Linked DNA regions of Homo sapiens: all the other regions are linked to region 3. Evidence: promoter capture Hi-C in human tissues and cell types (Jung and others, 2019). All regions are on one chromosome and are shown on one strand. The core of a region is centred on a gene start or on the middle of the fragment in contact, and the rest is flanking DNA. Distances in the headings are between cores, read along the strand shown. Region 1 has its middle 25 kb from the start of TEF. Region 2 overlaps MEI1 (meiotic double-stranded break formation protein 1). Region 3 holds the start of CSDC2 (cold shock domain containing C2).

Region 1 (3,667 bases), core at 552-3,051, 150 kb after region 3:
GCGGGGTGTGTCTATCCTCCAGCCCCACGAGAGGTGAGATTGACTTACCTTGCCCAGCCCAGCCCAGCCCAGCCCAGCCAGCCAGAGTTGGCAGTCCTTTTTCTTTTTTCTTTTTTGAGACGGAGTCTCGCTCTGCTGCCCAGGCTGCCCAGGTTGGAGTGCAGTGACACGATCTCAGCTGAGCTCACTGCAACATCCACCTCTCAGGCCCAAGCAATTCTCGTGCCGCAGCATCCTGAGTAGCTGGGACTACAGGTACCCACCACCACACCTGGCTAAGTTTTTGTGTTTTAGCAGAGAAGAGATTTCACTATGTTGTCCAGCATGATCTTGAACTCCTGAGCTCAGGCAATTCACATGCCTCAGCCTCCCAAAGTGCTAGGATTATAAGCGTGAGCCACTGTGCCCGGCTAGAATTTCCATTTCTTGATAGTTCAGTTCAGTGCAACACAGAGAATAAAAGCACAGACTCTGGACCCAGATAGATCTCAGTTTGAGTCTGCCTGTAACATTTCTTAGCTATGTGATCTTGGGCTACTCACTTCACCTCTCTGTGCCCTAGTTTTCTTTTCTTTTTTTTTTTTTTTTTTTTTTGAGACAGGGTCTCGCTCTGTCGCCCAGGCTGGAGTGCAGTGGCACCATCTCGTCACTGCAAGCTCCGCCTCCTGGGTTCACGCCATTCTCCTGCCTCAGCCTCCCGAGTAGCTGGGACTACAGACACCTGCCACCACGCCCGGCTAATTTTTTTGTATTTTTAGTAGACATGGGGTTTTACTGTGTTAGACAGGATGGTCTCGATCTCCTGACCTCGTGATCAACGCGCCTCGGCCTCCCAAAGTGCTGGGATTACAGGTGTGAGCCACCGCACCTGGCCGCTGTGCCCTAGTTTTCTCACCTGTGAAATGCGATTTATAATAAGATGTAACTCACAAAGGGTTGTGGGAAAGACAGTTTGAGAAAATGCTTGAAAAGCACTTAGCAGACTGGGCGTGGTGGCTCACGCCTGTAATCCCAGCGCTTTGGGAGGCTGAGGCAGGTGGATCACAAGGTCAGGAGTTCGAGACCAGCCTGGCGAACGTGGTGAAACCCCACCTCTACTAAAAATACAAAAATAGTCTGCTACCACCACCACCACTACCGCTCCTCTTATCTCCCCAGGGGACATAGTGACCCTTGAGTCAAAAGAGCAAGAGCCAGGTTTGTTACTCAAGGGCAGGAGCCAAGAAAGAAAGTGCCTAGGCCCCCTTACTAAGCCCACACTCCAGCCGTGTCAACAGAAAGTTCACCAGAGCTGGGTTCAAATCCTACTTACTGGGTGGTCTCAACCAAGTCACTTAATTGTTCTGAACCTGTTTTCCTATCTATAAAATGGATGTAAAGATACCGTAAAGGGCTGTTGTGAGGTTGAAATGAATGGGCATAGAAAGCATCTGCTGTCCTGGCACGGTATAGTTCATGCCTGTAATTCCAGCACTTTGGGAGGCTGAGGTGGGAGGATCACTTGAGCCCAGGAGTTTGAGACCAGCCTGGGCAACACAGGGAGACCCTCATCTCAATTAAAAAAAAAAATCTGGCCGGGTGTGGTGGCTCACGCCTATAATCCCAGCACTTTGGGAGGCGGAGGAAGGTGGATAGCTTTAGATCAGGAGTTCAAGACCAGCCCGACCAACATGATGAAACCCCGTCTCTATTAAAAATACAAAACTTGGTCAGGGGTGATGTCGGGCACCTGTAATCCCAGCTATCCAGGAGGCTGAGGGAGGAGAATCACTTGAACTCGGGAGGCGGAGATTGCAGTGAGCTGAGAGCTGAGATTGTGCCACTGCACTCCAGCCTGGACAACAGAGCAAGACTCTGTCTCAAAAAAACAAAAACTGACACAGTAAGTGCTCAATAATTACATGACCAGGCACGGTGGCTCACACCTGTTATCCCAGCACTTTGGGAGGCTGAGGCGGGCAGATCACTTGAGGTCAGGAGTTCGAGACCAGCCTGGCCGACATGGTGAAACCCCATCTCCACTAAAAATACAAAAAGTAGCTGTGTGTGGTGGCATGCGCCTGTAATCCCAGGTACTTGAGAGGCTAAGGCAGGAGAATCACTTGAACCCAGGAGGCAGAGGTTGCAGTGAGCCAAGATCACACCACTGCACTCCAGCCTGGGTGACAGAGTGAAACAGTCTCAAAAAATAAATTAATTAATTAAATAATCACATATCTTGAGCAGGAAAAGAGCCAGGCTGACTCTGTATGGGGAAGAGGGGAGGTGTTGGGCCCCTCCAGCTTAATCCCTGGACTCCCTTATGCTAAGGAAGTCCACAGCCTCCTTGACTACTCTGGCAGGAGTGAGAATAATGCTGTATGCCTCAGGGAAGCAGGGATCTAAATTCAAATGTATGTAAATATCATGCAAATCAGGAAGCACTGGGTCCTTCCAGGGGAGAGATGGAGAGAGAAGATCCAGTTACTAGGGACTGGGGATGGGGGTAGGGGGCTGGAACAGAAGCAGGGTACCCCAGAGCCTTCACAGGGCACTGCCCCAGCTGCCAATTGAGCAGCTGCCCCAGGCCCTGTGGGCCCCTCCTGGCATGGATATGAAACCTCCTGGGCCGGGTGCAATGGCTCACGCCTGTACTCCCAGCACTTTGTGAGGCCGAGGCGGGCGGATCACGAGGTCAGGAGATCGACACCATCCTGGCTAACATGGTGAAATCCCGTCTCTACCAAAAATACAAAAAAAAAAAAAAAAAAATTAGCCAGGTGTGGTGGTGGGTGCCTGTAGTCCCAGCTACTCGGGAGGCTGAGGCAGGAGAATGGCATGAACCCGGAAGGCAGAGCTTGCAGTGAGCCGAGATAGCACCACTGCACTCCAGCCTGGGCGACAGAGCAAGACTCCATCTCAAAAAAAAAAAAGAAAGAAAGAAACCTCCTGGTGCCCTGGGATCCGCGGACTCCTCGGTCAAGGTGAGAGAGTCCCTGGTGAGGACACACACAGACCCATTTGTGTACACATATGCTAACCCTGCCAGACGCAGTTGGACGCACACACATATACCCAGGAACAGTCACAGACACACATAGACACAATTGTACACACACTGAGACACAGGCACTCGGGCAACTCAGGCTCTGGGCCTCAGGGCAGGGGAGGCCCCAGAGATCTTGCCCCACTTGAAAAGGCAGTGCTGAGGCCCCAGGGGCCCCTGGTTTCCTGTCCACCCACCTTTTCCCCAACCCACACACACGGTACCTGCACACACCACCCCCACTCGAGGAGGCCCCTGAAAAAGCTCCCTCCTTGGCCTCATCCTGATATGGCAGGCCTGCTCCGTGCACCCCATGGGGTTCCAGTTCTTGCCCACATTTATTCTTTTTTTTTTTTTTTTGAGACGGCGTCTCGCTCTGTCGCCCAGTCTGGAGTGTAGTGGTGCAATCTCGGCTCACTGCAAGCTCTGCCTCCCAGGTTCACGCCATTCTCCTGCCTCAGCCTCCCGAGTAGCTGGGACTACAGGTGCCCGCCACCACGCCCAGCTAATTTTTTGTATTTTTTAGTAGAGATGGGGTTTCACCGTGTTAGCCAGGATGGTCTCGATCTCCTGACCTCATGATCCGCCCGCCTCAGCCTCCCAAAGTGCTGGGATTACAGGTATGAGCCACTGCACCCGGCC
Region 2 (3,353 bases), core at 228-2,727, 200 kb before region 3:
AACCTCTCACCTATTTCATAGAATATTGCTTCTGTTCCTTAGTGTGGACCCTTCAGTCTAAAGCTAAAGGCACTCTTCCTCCATTGACTATTAATTTTGCCTCTTTTTGATTACTGTTGAGGCAAATGTGATGAGAGTAGACCTGGTTTAATTTGAGTGGAAACAGAAAGGCATAGTGGAAGTGAATGGGTTTTCAAGTAAGACACACCTGGGCACACAATGTCCTGTTGTCTCTCTCTTTGTGCTAGTAGCAGCCACTGGTGATCATTGCCTAGATCCACTAATTAATTAGGGATTACAAAACAATAATATTCTAGTTCTGTCATTATCTGTTTATTAACTTAAATACTTGTATAAAAGGAAACTTCCAGCCGGGCACGGTGGCTCACGCCTGTAATCCCAGCACTTTGGGAGGCCGAGGCGGGCAGATCACGAGGTCAGGAGATTGAGACCATCCTGGCTAACAGGATGAAACCCCGTCTCTACTAAAAATACAAAAAATTAGCCGGGTGTGGTGGCGGGCGCCAGTAGTCCCAGCTATTCAGGAGGCTGAGGCAGGAGAATGGCGTGAACCCAGGAGGTGGAGGTTGTGGTCAGCAGCGATCCTGCCACAGCGATCCTGCCACTGCACTCCAGCCTGGGTGACAGAGCGAGACTCCGTCTCAAAAAAAAAAAAAAAAAAAAAGGAAACTTCCCCTCATTAACTATTCAGTTACTCTGAAGGGTTAGATTAGATTACATAGGAAACATAGGTTAAGTGCTTGATTCTTTTCCTGTGGTTACCAGTTTTCAAAAACATGAGTTTGTTGCATAGCATCCTCCAAAGGTGACCAAAGAGTTGTTGTTTTTTTTTAATTTTTAATATTTTGTAGAGACAAGGTCTTACTATGTTGCCCAGGCTGGTCTTGAACTCCTGGCTGAGGCAGGAGAATCGCTTGAACCCAGAAGGTGGAGGTTGCAGTGAGCCGAAATCACACCATTGCACTCCCGAACTCAAGTGATCCGCCCACCTCAGCCTCCCAAAGTGCTGGGATTATAGACGTGAGCCACCGTGCCCAGCCTCAGTCCCGATTTTCTTATCTGTAGAATGCAAATAATCTCTTCCTCCCAGGAAGGCTGAGATAATTAGGTAAATTATACAGGCTCTGTATGAGTCTGCATCCTACTCCTCTCCACACTCCTAACACCTCCGCTTTGTCTCTCTCTACCACCCGCTTGTCTATACACTATCATCATCATGGTCTCCCAGGGAACACTAATGTAAAGAGGTACAGAAGGACAAGGAGCCCAGGCATTGTGGTCCATACCTCACGTAGTGTATTGTCTTTGTCCTGGCAGATTGCAAGCAGATAGATGGAGGCTTTGAAGACCACCAGTGGGGGGCGCTCGCCCTGGTCCTGCAGCGACAGGAGGAAGCTTTGCACAGCCTCAAATAACTCTGCCTCTGAGACAAACCTGTCAACCAAGAAAAGCCTGAGTGAGAAAGGCAGAGTTGGCAGGCCACTGGGCTCTTCTATTCTGCCTGGCCGCATCCTTCCTCAGCCCACTGTCCTGCCCCAATATGCCCACAGCCTAATGACATCTTAGACAAACAGTGTGCTATACATACTTACAAAGCACTGCCATATATATACATCACATTGTTCTGTGCCTTGTGCAAGGCTCAGTTAGGGGCCAAATACTCCTCATTCACACTTGGGAGGTGAGCTATCTGCCAGCTGGACCAGCAGTGTTAAAGAGAAGGGTGCTACTGCTGGGGTTCAGAAGGCCCTGCTCTGGCAGCTGCTCCACCCCTCTCTTCTTGTATTTATCATTAAACAGTGGTGTATTTAACAGATATAACACCAAAAGCATAAATGACAAAAGAAAAAAATGGATAAATTAGAGGTCATCAAAATTAAAAACATTTGTGCTTAAAAGATACCACTAAGAAAGTGAAAACGGCCAGGTGTGATGGCTCATGCCTAGAGTCCCAGCACTCTGGGAGGCTGTGGTGGGAGAACTGCTTGAGGCCAGGAGTTCGAGACCAGCCTAGGCAACATAGTCAGACCTCTTCTCTACAAAAAAAAAAAAAAAAATCAGTTAAATTAGCTGGTTGTGTAGACGCATGCCTATAGTCCCAGCTACATGGGAGGCTGAGATGGGAGGATCGCTGGAGCCCAGGAGGTTGAGGCTGCAGCGAGCCATGATTGTGCTACTGCAATTCAGCCTGGGTAAGAGAGCAAGATACAAAAGGAAAGGAGAGGAAGGGGGAAGGGGAAGGTAAGGAAAAAGGGAGGGTAGAGTAGGGGAGGGGAAGTAAGAGGAAGGGAGGTGAAGGGAGGGGAGGGAAAAGAGGAAAGGACAGGATAGGACAGGACAGGAATGGAAAGGAAAGGAAGAAAGAAAGAAAAGAAAGCGAAAAGACAGCAAACAGGAGGCCAGGTGCAGTGGCTCACGCCTGTAATGGTAGCATTTGAGGAGGCCAAGGTGAGAGGATTGAGAATATACCCAAAAAGAATTAAAAACACTACTCAAACAAATACATGTACACACATGTTTACAACAGCACTATTCACAATAGCCAAAAGGTGGATAGGCCCAAATGTCCACCAATAGGTGAATAAAAGCAAATTATGGTGTATACATACAAAGGTATATTAATCAGCCATAAAAGGAATGAAGTACTGATACACGGTACAAACATTATGCTCACTGGATGGACTTCTAAAATGATATGCTAAGTGGAAGAAGCCAGACACAAAAAGTCACACACTGTATGATTCCATCTATGTGAAATATTCAGAATAGGTAACTCCAAAGAGACAGAACAGATTGTTGATTGCCAGGAGCTGGGGAGGAGGAACGGAAGTGACAGCTTTGCAGTGATGGAAATGTTCTAGAACTAGATGAAGGTGGTGGTTGTGCATTTTAAAGGTACTATTAAATACCACTGAATTGTTCACTTTAAAATGGTCAAGCTTATGTTGTGTAAATTTTACCTTAATAATTTTTTTTTTCTTTTAAGACTGAGTCGGCCGGGCGCAGTGGCTCACGCCTGTAATCCCAGCACTTTGGGAGGCCGAGGCGGGCAGATCACGAGGTCAGGAGATCCAGACCATCCTGGCTAACACAGTGAAACTCCGTCTATACTAAAAATACAAAAAATTAGCCGGGCGTGGTAGCGGGCACCTGAATTTCCAGCTACTCAGGAGGCTGAGGCAGGAGAATGGCGTGAACCCGGGAGGCAGAGCTTGCAGTGAGCCGAGATTGGGCCACTGCACTCCAGCCTGGGCGACAGAGTGAGTCTCCGTCTCAAAAAAAAAAAAACAAAAAAAAAACACTGAGTCTCACTCTGTCGCCCAAGCTGGAGT
Region 3 (3,789 bases), core at 876-3,375:
TTATTTAAGAGACCCTGTAGTCCTCCTTGTCACATGCCCAGGCTGCCCTGGGGAACTGCTGTGGTTAAGGCCTTTGGGCTTCTGTGGCTTGGGTGGTGGTGGGGAAACCAGGACGGCACTGGGAGAGCCAAATACGCACCCCAGTCCCACCTGTGCTTGGCTGTGCGACCCTAGGCAAGTCACTTTCCCATTTTGAGACCCCCTAGAGAGAGGAATAGACTGGTCAAAGTCATACATACATACAGCATCTGAACTTGAACTCCAATCAGTGTGACCCCACAGCTTTCTGGTGTGCCATGCCAGCCCCCCAGCCCAGGAGTGTCATTTTGCTGGCTGTGGGGCAGAAGAGCTCCCTACTACTTTTAGCCTCCCATTTTGCTGCTCAGCATGGACAAAGGTCTGAACTGCCCCAAGCCCCATTCCTACAAGGCTCTGGGTCCTGGCTGCCCCAGTTGTGACCGTGGACATGACTGGCTCAGCCAGGTCCTGAGCGCCCTCTACCCCCTAGGGGGCTCTACTCCAGACTGGCTGGCAGGTGTCCCCTCCCCACCAGCCATCTGAGAGTGTCCCCAAGTCCCCCTCAGGGAATCCCCCTGCGCATCCGTGAACATTGCCTAGCCATGTCTCTCCAAGCCTGGGAGAGCCATCTGTGGCCAAAACTGTCCTCTGGCCTTTCCCAGGACACGGGCAGGCAGTTCCTGTCTATACCTGTCTTTTTTTTTTTTTTTGAAGGGGGTGAGGATGGGTCAAGATGGGCAGACACAGAAAACAGACATTTTTGGAGAAGACTTCAAGGAAATGGGGGGCGGCAGGGCAAAGCTGGGAGGAGGAAACATTCAGAATTTGGAGGGTCCAGAGGACTCTGGGATGGAGTCAGGTTTGGGAAACCAGTTCCCCATCCCCCAGAAAGCTGGAGACCCCCTTTCCCAGGGAGAGGCCCCTGCCGGATCACAGCCAGGCAGCATGATGCCAGGCTCTCAGAGAGGTTGCCCACCCCCCACTGGGCATACTTCCTCCTCTCCTACCCCAGCCCCAGTGGATGCAGCAGTTCACACTCTGTATTTATTATTGTTCTCGCTCTGTGTCCCCCTCCCCTCTCCCTGGGAAGAGCCTGCAGGCTGGCAGCTTGGCAGGAACCTGCTGTCTCCTTGTGGGTGCCAGCGTCGCCCCTTATCTCCGCCTGGACTCCTTGTGCCAGGGTCAGGCCATTCATGGGCTTGGCACCAGCCAAGGCCACCCTAAGTCCCTGTATCCCAAGATAGAGGCCTGGCAGGCCCTGACTTATCACCCCTGCCCTCCGGGGGCTGTGCCCTGGCAAGGGTGGAGGTCAGAGCAGACCAGCAGGCAGGCAAGAAGCAAGGGCTCGGGGTGGGGTGGTACCTGGGGGAAGAGAATAACCACACGGAGCCACCTCTCTAAGCCAACTAACACAATTATCCCCATCACACTGGGGAAAAAATAGAGTCAGGATAAGACAGCTGCTCCAGGTCCAACTGTCTGCCTTTCCCAGCCGGTCCCTTCCCAGCCCAACATTCCAGGGGAAGGACCAGCAAGGGTCCCTGCTGCACTCTGCTTTCAGCAACTGGAAGCGGCACTGGGGTTTCTCTGGTCAAGGCGGTCCTCTCTCCCGCTGCTTCCCAGACAGGAGGCTGCGGCTTGGCAGGTATCTGCTGCTCTCTGCCTCCTGAGCCAGACGCAGGTCCCAGACACAGACACAGACACAGACACAGACATGCTCCCACGGGAGCCACACGGCCTCACCTCATTTGGGGGTCACGGGGAGAGAATGAGGGAGGGAGAGACAGGTGGTATCCTCTATACCCCCAACACCCTATCTGTAAGCTGAACTGGGCTGATCCAGCCCCCACCTTCACGTTGTACCTCTCTCCTTCGGCCTGGCCAAAGCCACAGTTTCTGGCACAGTGTCCTCAGGCCCCATCTAGCCCCTCACCTCTCCTGGGCAGCTGGGGTCCAGGCACTGCCTCCTGCGGCGTCCGCGCTCTGTCTCTCTCTGGCTCGTGGAGCTGGCAGGCAGGGGATGGGTCTGGAAGATGTGTGTGTGTGTGTGTGTGTGTGTGTGTGTGTGTGTCTGTGTGTGCTCGCGCGGGCGGTACCTCAGCCCCTCACTCACTCACACGCCTTCCAGCTGACGTCAGGGAGAGCAGGAGGGAGGGATGAGAATTTGTACTCCCTGCTTAAAGGGACACCAGGCTCTGTGGCTCATGGCCCAGACATCACCTCCTGAGTCAGGCACTGCCAGGTGAGAGGCTCAGCTGCGTCTCTCGGGGGCCTTAAAGCTTCTTTTTTTGGAAAGTGGCTTTTATGGTCGGGCCACGGTATAATTTGCCCTGCCCAGTGAGGGCAGCTGCTGAGGAATGCAGGGGAGGAAGAACCTGAGACAGCGCCACGTTCCTGGTAATTAGAGAGCAAGTGGGGTGGTGAGTTTGAGTGTGAGTGTGTGAGTGCACACTGGGGGGCCCCTCGGGGTGGGTGGGCATGAGTGGGGGTGAGTCTGGGAGAATGGAGGTCAGAGCCAAGAGGAGCCCCCCAGAGGGGTCGAGACAAGCCAGGTTCCCAGGGACACCCAGACACTCGTCTCCCCTCCGGACGCTCAGTGGTCCTGCCCTCTGCTAGTACAGACACTGACACGGCTCATCTCTGTCTACCCCTTGTAATATTTCCATGGAATTGAATTGACGAGGACCCCAAGGAAGTGATCGGCTTGAAGGTGCACAGGTGAACACCCCACAGCCTGGGAGGCTCTGAGTAGAGAAGTAGAGAGGGCTGATTGAATTCAGGCACCCAGCCTGTTCTACACCACACGCCCTGGCTTCGAAGTGCTCCGCACTGTCAAGCTGTGTGACCTTGGGCCAGCCCCTGAGGGCCTTTGGAGGTTGAGTGTGTGATGTTCCTAAACCCAGGGCCAGCTGGAGGAGGCCTCCACAAAGGTGCTTCTCTTCGTTCTTCCCATTCCTTCTCAGCCTCAGCTTGGAAAGAAGGAAGCCTTTCCCTGGTGTCTCCTGGTACTACTGAGGCAGGCTGGCATTTTCAAAAGGAGTCTTTTTAAAATAAAAAGGAGGTGGGAGTTAAAAGGGAAACCGCAGAGAAAAATACAAGTAACTAATACAAATAGCTAAGACGCCACAAGAGCTTGCTCTGTTTCAGGCAGCAAGCTTTGCCCTCATTGAAACCTCACAACAATTTAATAATTTATTTTTATCATCCCTACTTTACCGGTGAGGAATTAGAGGCTCAGGGAGGAGGAAGGACTTGACTTGCCTATATTCTTCCAACTGGCTAGAGAGGTACTGGAACCCAGGAGCACCCAGTGTCACCACACGCCCCTGCCCTTCCAGAACCTCTCAGGACAATCAGGCTCAGACAGTCTGGGTTTCTGGTTCTGCAGGAGAGACTGTTGAGAAATGCTGCCTGTGGTTACCTGGGGATGTTCTGAATTATTATTATTTTTTTTAGAGAGTATTGCTGTGTCGCCCAGGCTGGAGGGCAGTGGCTTGATCTCAGCTCGCTGCAACCTCCGCTTCCCGGGTTCAAGCGATTCTCCTGCCTCAGCCTCCTGAGTAGCTGGGACTACAGACACACACCACCACACCCAGCTAATTTTTTTGTATTTTTAGTAGAGACAGGGTTTCACTATGTTGGCCAGAATGGTCTCGATCTCCCGACCTCGTGATCCACCCACCTCAGCCTCCCAAAGTGCTGGGATTACAGACGTGAGCCACCGCGCCCAGCCAGGGTTCTGATTTTATTTCACAGCCCCACCTGAGAACT

What was found. Contacts are between HindIII fragments. The study calls those that stand out against the background at their distance.
Region 1: a fragment that was not itself captured here is called in contact with the fragment with the promoter of CSDC2 in region 3 in 1 of the 25 tissues and cell types used here (aorta).
Region 2: a fragment that was not itself captured here is called in contact with the fragment with the promoter of CSDC2 in region 3 in 2 of the 25 tissues and cell types used here (pancreas and thymus).

Annotation. Positions count from the first base shown.
Region 1 is chr22:41,405,316-41,408,982 of GRCh38, reverse strand. No RefSeq gene overlaps it. Among named protein-coding and RNA genes, the nearest start is that of TEF, 25 kb to the right of the region's middle. RefSeq lists a silencer at 582-631. The HindIII fragment of the contact is 5,819 bases long and covers 1-3,667 here.
Region 2 is chr22:41,761,276-41,764,628 of GRCh38, reverse strand. MEI1 (meiotic double-stranded break formation protein 1) reads right to left here. Exons shown (of 31, transcript NM_152513.4): 19 at 1,308-1,455. Among named protein-coding and RNA genes, the nearest start is that of CCDC134, 38 kb to the left of the region's middle. The HindIII fragment of the contact is 7,279 bases long and covers 1-3,353 here.
Region 3 is chr22:41,559,346-41,563,134 of GRCh38, reverse strand. CSDC2 (cold shock domain containing C2) reads right to left here and starts at 2,125. Exons shown (of 4, transcript NM_014460.4): 1 at 1,952-2,125. It overlaps LOC105373044 (a long non-coding RNA gene), which reads left to right and starts at 2,252. Exons shown (of 2, transcript NR_134631.1): 1 at 2,252-2,415. The HindIII fragment of the contact is 6,219 bases long and covers 958-3,789 here.